2 separate regions of the Homo sapiens genome follow, and region 2 is linked to region 1. Evidence: promoter capture Hi-C in human tissues and cell types (Jung and others, 2019). All regions are on one chromosome and are shown on one strand. Each heading gives the region's core, a stretch centred on a gene start or on the middle of the fragment in contact. The rest is flanking DNA. Distances are from core to core; before and after follow the strand shown. Region 1 holds the start of RRH (retinal pigment epithelium-derived rhodopsin homolog). Region 2 overlaps MCUB (mitochondrial calcium uniporter dominant negative subunit beta).

Region 1 (4,469 bases), core at 722-3,221:
GTTTTGTTAAAGGAGGAAAGTTAGGGGATCTAAAGAAAAATAGATGCTTGATACAGGGGCAGAACAAAAGCATAAAGAGTTCAGCTATGCTTCCTTCAGTGGATCCACCAGAAACACAAACAACACACACTCATTGTATACCTTGATAAAGCTGACTCTTGGATTTATATGTGAGGGCTCTAGAACCAAAATGCCTGGGTTCAAATCCTGGTGTAGCTGCTTAGTAAATGTGTGTGCTGGACAAGTTTCTTAAGCTCTTCATCTGTATAAACTAGAGAAATAAAACTGAAGAGTAACTTACTAAATTAGTGTAAGGATGAATTATTCTGTATGTGTAAGGTTTTAGAACAGTGCTTGGTATATAGCAAGTATTCAAATGATAACATTAGTAGCAGTAGTAGTAAGATTACTATTATTATTACTGTTACAGAGATAAGAACTAAATAGAATATTTTCTGCATGCTAATTTTGTAACCAGGTCAAAAAAGGATAGTTTTGGTTGTTTTTTGGATTTTTTTTTTTTTTGGTCATCTACAAATAACTAACTAAACCAAACACTTGTATACAAAGTATTTCCATGTAATTGTTAGGAGATTTTCTCAGTCTTTTTTGCAATTACAAAAAAACTAGAACTTGTCTAGTACTTATCATAGAGGTATTCAAATGAACGAGATAACGTCACTAAAATCGCAAAACTTAACTGAGGAACTCAATTTCCAGTACTAGAAGTAATACGCTGAATTATAAGGAAGAAACGTAAACAATTATAAACTGGGTATAGGATGGTGTGTTATACTTTTCACTCTACTTTTGAATGTTTGAAAATTTTTATAAAAGTCAATCCAAAAAATAATGAACTCAATATAAGAGTTACTTCTACAACTCGTTAGAGTATAAAGTTGAAAATTAAGTGATTGCTCAATATAAAAGTTACACAATTCAATGATACATTAAAAAGATAAAAAGTTTCTGTCATTCCCCCATCCCTTTTTTTCTGCAAACAATCCTTTACATCAATGAGTGTGTAGGGAGGAAAGGGAAAAAGAAACAAATATTTGTCCAACACCTACTATATGGCATTTATGTGTCACTTAATTTTACTCCTTATAACAATCATGACAGATAACTTATTCTTATCCTTGTTTTACAGATGAGAAAATGGAAGAACAAAAAGGGAAGATACATGCTCACAGTTGCAAATATACTAAAAGATGAAATCCAAAACTCAAGAGTTTTCCAATAAGCATTCTGGAACAAGCTGAATTTTCAGACTCTGTCCTCAATGACAATATACCCTGCTCTGTCTTCTTAGGACTTTTTCTTTCCAGAACCTTTAAGTTCTTAGCTAAATTCTACCACCAAGAACAAAAATATGAGGGTTATGTATAAGAATAGTAAATGACATAAAAATATGTTTTTGCCATGGTGCATACTCTTCTCCAATAAAAACTTTAACAATCCAATAATCAAATACATAGATTTTTATGAAAGAACTATTTATCACATAGAAAACTTTTCTCAGCCCCACTTCACTGCTCTTATTTACCAAAATTCAAAATAACCTGTGGCAATGGCCATCACTAACAATGCTTTCCCTTATTCTTTCACCCACATTATCTTATTTGATCTTTACAGCCCAGAAATAGAGTATCATCATCCTCATTTACCAACGAGCAAGCCAAGTCAGGATAAATGACTTGTCAAGGTTGGCCAATAATATGGAACTTGAAACAATGCATGCCTTATGCTGAAAACTTCTGCCTTTCTTCACCCATTCTAAAGAAAAATAACTTACTTAAATATCCATACCTGCCATAATCAAGTAAGTTGCAACAATATTGTGTTCAGTCTGTGAAAAGACCGAGCCATCTTCATTTTTAGAGTCTGAACTGTTGCCTAAATTATTTCTTAGCATTTTGGAGGGAAGATACCGAAACACCCTTCATAATAAGCCTTCGATAATTATGAACTGCTTTATGAGCTACTGAGGAAAGATTTTTTAGGACCAATCATTTCCACTTAGAGACCTCAAAGAAGGGCCTTTTCATAGAGGCCCTCCCTTAACAAATTTAATTGGGCTAAAGAGGAAAGGACTTTAATTCCCAGAATAAGGGAAAAGCTTATTAGCAAAACAAAAAGAAATACCAAGCACCACACATTTTAACCTATTTGGGCATCAGTCTTCTATCTAAGGAGATTATCAAGCACACACATCCCATTTAACAATAAACAAACTCAGGAAATCAGTATAGGAGCCAGCCTTAGTCCTCTAAAACTATTCGGATTAAGGTCCCTGTTTTCTGTTGACCATTCAAGTCTTTCCATTTCGGCTCCTTTTGTTGTTTTTTTTTTCTTAACAATTTAAATATTAGTGACAAAGAAGTAGTCTCCTTCCTACTTCCAAATCTCACTCTCCTAAAGGTACCAGTATTGTTTGGTGCATATCCTTTCTTAGGCTTTTCTCTGCTTATACACATATTCATACAAGTGTTTCAGGTTTCCTCCACTTTCTTCTTGTAAATAAAAATGAGGGAAAAAAATAAGTACAAATGTATATATATAATGCAACTTGTTTTCCCATAAGGCTGTATTATAATATCCAAGTTAATAAACCCAGAATCTAATAAAGTCTAATTTATTAGTAGCTATGTATTTCATAGCATGGATATAATATGATCAACTCCACCATCCGTTAATTTCCCCTATAGTTTGATATGCACATGAGTAATTAATATTATCTGATGATAGTAATCATTGTATACTTTGCCAGAGTATCTGAATTCAATCACTGATATTGTAAAGTACAGAATAAAAATATTCTGGATTATCACATTACAACCTGAAAACCAACCTGAGCATGTTTTGTTAGAATAATAAGGTATCCCTATTACCTTTTTTCCCATATTCTTTATGCCATTAACATTATTAAAATCTGATTCTCCTCAGTTTCCTAAAATCAGTAAACATTAGAGAAATGCTTAGATGCACCAAAGTTAACAGTGTAAGCATAAAACAGAACCACTAGAGGGCTATATTTACCCACTTAGTTTAATTTTATAAAAATCCTAGAATGGCACAGCAGAAACCTAAGATAATCCTTTTGCTTCAGTTCTCTTGCCTGTGTATAAACTCAAGATGAACAGGTTGATTTATCTGTCCCAAATCTTATAGCTACCAGTACTCACATTTTTATAAATGTAATATTGTTATACCTATACTAGAAAAGCGAATCTCGTCAGTATTGTTTTCAAATGACCCTAGAGCAAAAAACATAATACCCAAGAGGAAATCACTCCCTTTAAAAAGTCTTTGTCTTTTCTTTCATTCAATATGCAAAACAAAACTTAAAATTTTTGAATTTGCTTTGGGTCATACTACCTTCCTTTTCTGTAATAAGTTATACCTAGTTGTAGCATCCATGAAAAATTTTCCAGAAATAATTATTTCTAAGAACTGAAAAATATATAATTTCAGATAGTCAGCTTTCTGCTGCAGATGAAAGTTTTGATATGAGTGAGGTAGGTGCATTTGAAGTTCTTTTTTATGCTTCCTTCATGGGTGATACAGAAAAGCTATATTGGGATAAGGCTTAGAAATACATGTGAATTTGATTCAAAATGAAATGCCTCAAAAAAACCCAGAAACTAGGCCAGGCGCAGTGGCTCACACCTGTAATCCCAGCACTTTGGGAGGCCAAAGCAGGCGGATCACCTGAGGTCAGGAATTCGAGACCAGCCTGACCAACATGGAGAAACCCCATCTCTACTAAAAATACAAAATTAGCCGGGCATGGTGGCGCATGCCTGTAATCCCAGCTACTTGGGAGGCTGAGGCAGGAGAATCGCTTGAACCCGGGAGGTAGAGGTTGCAGTGAGCCGACATTGCACCATTGCACTCCAGCCTGGGCAACAAGAACAAAACTCCGTCTCAAAAAATAATAATAATAAATAAACAAATAAATAAACCCAGAAACTATAAGGAAAAAAAAGGAAAAGATGTGGAAATAAAAGCTTAAAGATGGACAATGAAAAAAAGATATACATAAGCTAAACGGTAAAATTTCCAACTGGTTTGTCTACTGATCTATATGTTATTTCCATTATTGCCATTTTAGATTTATTTTTAATGTTAAAAAAACAAACTGTAGAAATGTTGCGCTATTATTATTTGTCCTTGGGACAATGCCATCACCCTTTGGTGCTTACTAACATCTTTTCCAAACCACGAGCAAAAGCCCTGGCCCTAACACTCCATGAAAATTTCATCACCACAATTCCAAATCAAATAATCTCCTGTCCTAAGCTGTAAAAGCATAACTGCCTATTCCTGTAAAAACTGTAATTTTCAACACATTTGCTCATCATATATATTAATGGCCTATGTATTTATTCATCCTGCTGCAATTCCATCAATCAGAAAAAGATAAAACCCCAAATACTGACAAAGACAACACTGTATGCTCCTCAAAT
Region 2 (4,469 bases), core at 265-2,764, 140 kb after region 1:
AACGGCTCATGGTACATTCAAGATTTGTGTGAGATGTTGGGAAAATATGGCTCCTCCTTAGAGTTCACAGAACTCCTCACACTGGTGAACAGGAAAGTTTCTCAGCGCCGAGTGGACTTTTGCAAAGACCCAAGTGCAATTGGAAAGAAGCAGGTTCCCTGTTTTGCCTCAATGCTAACTAAAAAGCTGCATTTCTTTCCAAAATCTAATTAATTAATAGAGGCTATCTAATTTTACACTCTGTATTGAAAATGGCTTTCTCAGCCAGGCGTGGTTACTCACACCTGTAATCCCAGCACTTTGGGAGTCCAAGGTGGGCGGATCACCTGAGGTCGGGAGTTCGAGACCAGCCTGACCAACATGGAGAAGCCCCGTCTCTACTAAAAATGCAAAAAAAAATTTAGCTAGGCATGGCGGCGCATGCCTGCAATCCCAGCTACTTGGAAGGCTGAGGCAGGAGAATCACTTGAACCCAGGAGGTGGAGGCTGCGGTGAGCCGAGATTGCGCCATTGCACTCCAGCCTGGGCAACGAGTGAAACTCCGTCTCAAAAAAAAGAAAATGTCTTTCTCTTCCTTTTATATAAATATCGTTAGGGTGAAGCATTATGGTCTAATGATTCAAATGTTTTAAAGTTTAATGCCTAGCAGAGAACTGCCTTAAAAAAAAAAAAAAAAAGTTCATGTTGGCCATGGTGAAAGGGTTTGATATGGAGAAACAAAATCCTCAGGAAATTAGATAAATAAAAATTTATAAGCATTTGTATTATTTTTTAATAAACTGCAGGGTTACACAAAAATCTAGCTGATTTAACTTGTATTTTGTCACTTTTTTATAAAAGTTTATTGTTTGATGTTTTTAAAGGTTTTTGAAATCCAGGAATTAAATCATCCCTTAATAAAATATTCGAAATTCATATTTTATTACATTTTTCTAACTCACATTCTTGTTCATTTGTGTAATTGATAGATGTTTTTTACTCGGTCATTTAAATGTTTAATATTTCATCTACATATGAATTACCACATTTTGTGTATGACTTTAATTCCTACTTTAAAAAAAATCAGCATTCCAGAATTGTTGTATGGCATTCTGAGGATGAAATAGAAAACATAATTCTTAGCCACTATAGGTTGAACACCTGCAAAATCTGATTCTGTCAGCATCTTCCATGTTAAGTTCCTACAAACAGTCCAACAGTCATCAGACCCATTCACACACAATCACATTAATAGAATAACAGATGTTACTTTCAAGGTTCAATTCTTATTAATATGATATAGAATCTGAATAATACTGTTTTGTTAATAATCTGCCAGAGGCTGAAGAAAGTTAACTGTTTTGGCTTCGATACCTGAAACTTGTGATTTGCAGGTTCAAAAGCAATCGTTTATATACACTGTTTCAGTTGAAGTTCAAAAAGTACCAACTATACTTTATGGTTGGTGGAACATTTATGCCTTTTTGATAAATGATAAAAAGATCTTACTCCCAACTACTGCATATTAAAAAAAGAAGTTAATGACAAGACGATTCCGTGGGAGGTTGAGGCAGGAGGGTTGCTTGAGCCCAGGAGTTTGATTTGGCAAGACCTGGTCTCTGATTTTTTTAAAAGGATGATTCCAAATTAAGTCTAAGAATGGAAGTGAATGCCAAGCACAGACCCTTTCACCTCCACATAGAGAATAAACGTGGGACAAGCTGACAAGGATTTTTAGCTAACAGCAGCCACCGTTGCTTTGATAGACGCATACAAGCCCTTTCTAACATTAGCAAGTCATAAAAATCCAAAAAGTAAAAATCTCAGTTGAGAACTTCAAACAATACTTCTGTTTTACAAGAATTTAATAACAAAGATTAAACAATCAAAATGAACCATGGGACTCAAAAACATCCTAAGTTGCAAAATCAATACATAATGGAAAATCTGACGACATTTAAAACTGTAAGATTAATTCTTTTCATTGAGTTCTTCTACTTGCATTTGCAAACAGAGAGAATGACGCGCCTGTTTCAGGGATTCTTTAGCCTGTCATGGGAAAAAGAAAAAGCATGTGATCAGAAAGAAGAGAAACATACCAACATTACTGCTTGAGAGGAATTCTATAAACTTAGCGTCTCCTTACAGCAATAAAATGTTTAAACTATTAGTGGCAAATGGCTGAAATATATATATATTTTTCTTGAGATGGGGTTTCATTCTGTCACCCAGGCAGGAGTGCAGTGCTACCATCTCAGCCCACTGCAACCTCTGCCTCCCTGGTGCAAGTCATTCTCCTGCCTCAGCCTCCCAAGTAGCTAGGACCACAGGTGCCCACCACCATGCCCACCTAATATTTTTTGGTATTTTTTGTAGAGATGGAGTTTTGCCATGTTGCTCTGGCTGGTCTTGAACTCCTGGACTCAAGTGATTTGCCCACCTTGGCTTCCCAAAGTGACGGGATATAAATATTTCAATTTTATATGTGGATCTTTTTAAAAGATGAGTTTAAGTTTACTAATTCATCCTTATGCCTTAAAAAAAAATACAGTTTATACCCTTTATAATGGTTTTCCACTTAATATTCTTAAAAAAAAAACCCTTAACCTACCACTTTATCTTTTTATCTCCACTTTATTACCTTAAACATAATTAACAAGGTGTTATATTTAAATTTTTTTATTTTAGAGATGGGGTCTTGCTCTGTTGCCCAGGCTGGAGTGCAGTGGTGTGATCATAGTTCACTGCAGCTTTGGAACTCTTGGGTTCAAGGGATCTTCCTGCTTCAGCTTCCCAAGTAGCTAGGGCTACAAGCATGTGCCACCATGTCCAGCTAATTTAAAAACAAATTTTGTAGAGATGAGGTCTCACTATGTTGACTAGACTGGTCTCCAATTTCTGGACTCGAGATCCTCCCACCTCAGCCTCCCAAATCACTGGGATCACACTAGGCTTACCTTCTAAATCTCAAATGCACTGTCTTGTAAACTAGCTGAAAGAACATTCCTTAGCCTTCTCAGATAGGATTATTCAAATATAAGGGAATCCACAAATTTTTTTTAAAAGCATTATATTTTTCCTATAGAATGACTATATGAAATAAAATACATTTTTTAAAAAGGCTTGGCTGGACATGGTGGCTCACACCTGTAATCCTAACACTTTGGGAGGCCAAGGCAGGTGGATCACTTGAGGTTAGGAGTTTGAGACCAGCCTGGACAACATAGTGGAACTCTGTCTCTACTAAAAATACAAAAAGTAACCAGGTGTGGTGGCGGGCGCCTATAATCACAGCTAACTCAGGAGGCTGAGGCACAAGAATCACTTGAACCCAGGAGGCGGAGGTTGCAGTGAACTGAGATTGCACCACTACACTCTAGTGTGGGCAACAGCAAGAATCTGTCTCAAAAAAATTTAAATTAAAACGTCCTTCAATTTTTGGACTACAAAATTTGAGTGATTCTGTTTTAAATTCTAGGGATGAGTAATTTAGAAAGTACACATAACAAAAGGTTTGATTACCAGCTACTAAACAAGCATGCATTGAGCAATGGAGGATATTTTTACCAAACTTTTTTGTTATGAAATTACTGATAAAAATGAAAAATCCAGTGATGTGCTGAGAAGTCACCATCTGAACAAAGTTAATGAGTAAATTGGGAGGCCAGAGATAACTGGCTAACAAGCAGACTGTGAAAAAGTACTTAAGAATATAGACTCCGAAATCAAACTTGTGTTCGTACCATGGTTCCTTCACTTTTTAGCAGTGTATACCTGAGTAAGTGCCTTTCAGAAGGGAAAAAGATGAAGGGAGGAATACTATAATGATTCTTCTATCTTTAGGGACAAGAAACTTATAAATGCCTTAAGTTCCTTATCACAGTGTTCACCTTCCTAAAATGCTATTTTTTATTATTTGCTTAGAAATGGATTTCCAGTGAAAACTTTTATTTTACTATCTCAAGTCATTTAAGAAATTTTAACACACATATTTAAAGCTATCTTCATGTACAGAAGAGTAAAACTGGGATATGAAATTAATATGAAATATGTCAACCATTTCAATGAACAATCCCACAACACACAGAAATCTAGGACCAAGATTTAATTTGTGAGGATGAGCCACCAGTTATACTTCCCTGATACTAAGTTCTGGCTCCCAAACAAACCAGCTATAAGATGTATTTGTAGTATACCTTAGCAAGGTCTTCTTTTAACTTGTTGTATTGCTGCACATCAAAGTGCTGTTGCTTTGATTTCTTGTGGAAGAACTGAAGAAATTGCCTACTCTTAACAGCTGAGTAAGTATAATCCTTAAAAAAAAAGAGAGAGAGAAGAAAACAACATGTTTTGAATGAACATAATGCCTCTGCAAGAAAGATACTTGACTCAGCAACACCAAAGCAAAAGAAGGCAGATGAATGAGTGAAATATTTGCAATGGCCATGAGAGTAAGCATAAGCCAACACAAAACATTTAGTCTCATTTAA

What was found. Contacts are between HindIII fragments. The study calls those that stand out against the background at their distance.
Region 2: a fragment that was not itself captured here is called in contact with the fragment with the promoter of RRH in region 1 in 1 of the 25 tissues and cell types used here (spleen).

What each region holds. Positions count from the first base shown.
Region 1 is chr4:109,825,474-109,829,942 of GRCh38, reverse strand. It overlaps RRH (retinal pigment epithelium-derived rhodopsin homolog), which reads right to left and starts at 1,971. Exons shown (of 7, transcript NM_006583.5): 1 at 1,810-1,971. The coding sequence starts at 1,915. The HindIII fragment of the contact is 8,882 bases long and covers 1-3,065 here.
Region 2 is chr4:109,685,074-109,689,542 of GRCh38, reverse strand. It overlaps MCUB (mitochondrial calcium uniporter dominant negative subunit beta), which reads right to left. Exons shown (of 8, transcript NM_017918.5): 7 at 4,176-4,292; 8 at 824-2,028. The coding sequence ends at 1,951. It overlaps CASP6 (caspase 6), which reads left to right. Exons shown (of 7, transcript NM_001226.4): 7 at 1-915. The coding sequence ends at 213. Among named protein-coding and RNA genes, the nearest start is that of CASP6, 16 kb to the left of the region's middle. The HindIII fragment of the contact is 5,769 bases long and covers 1-4,398 here.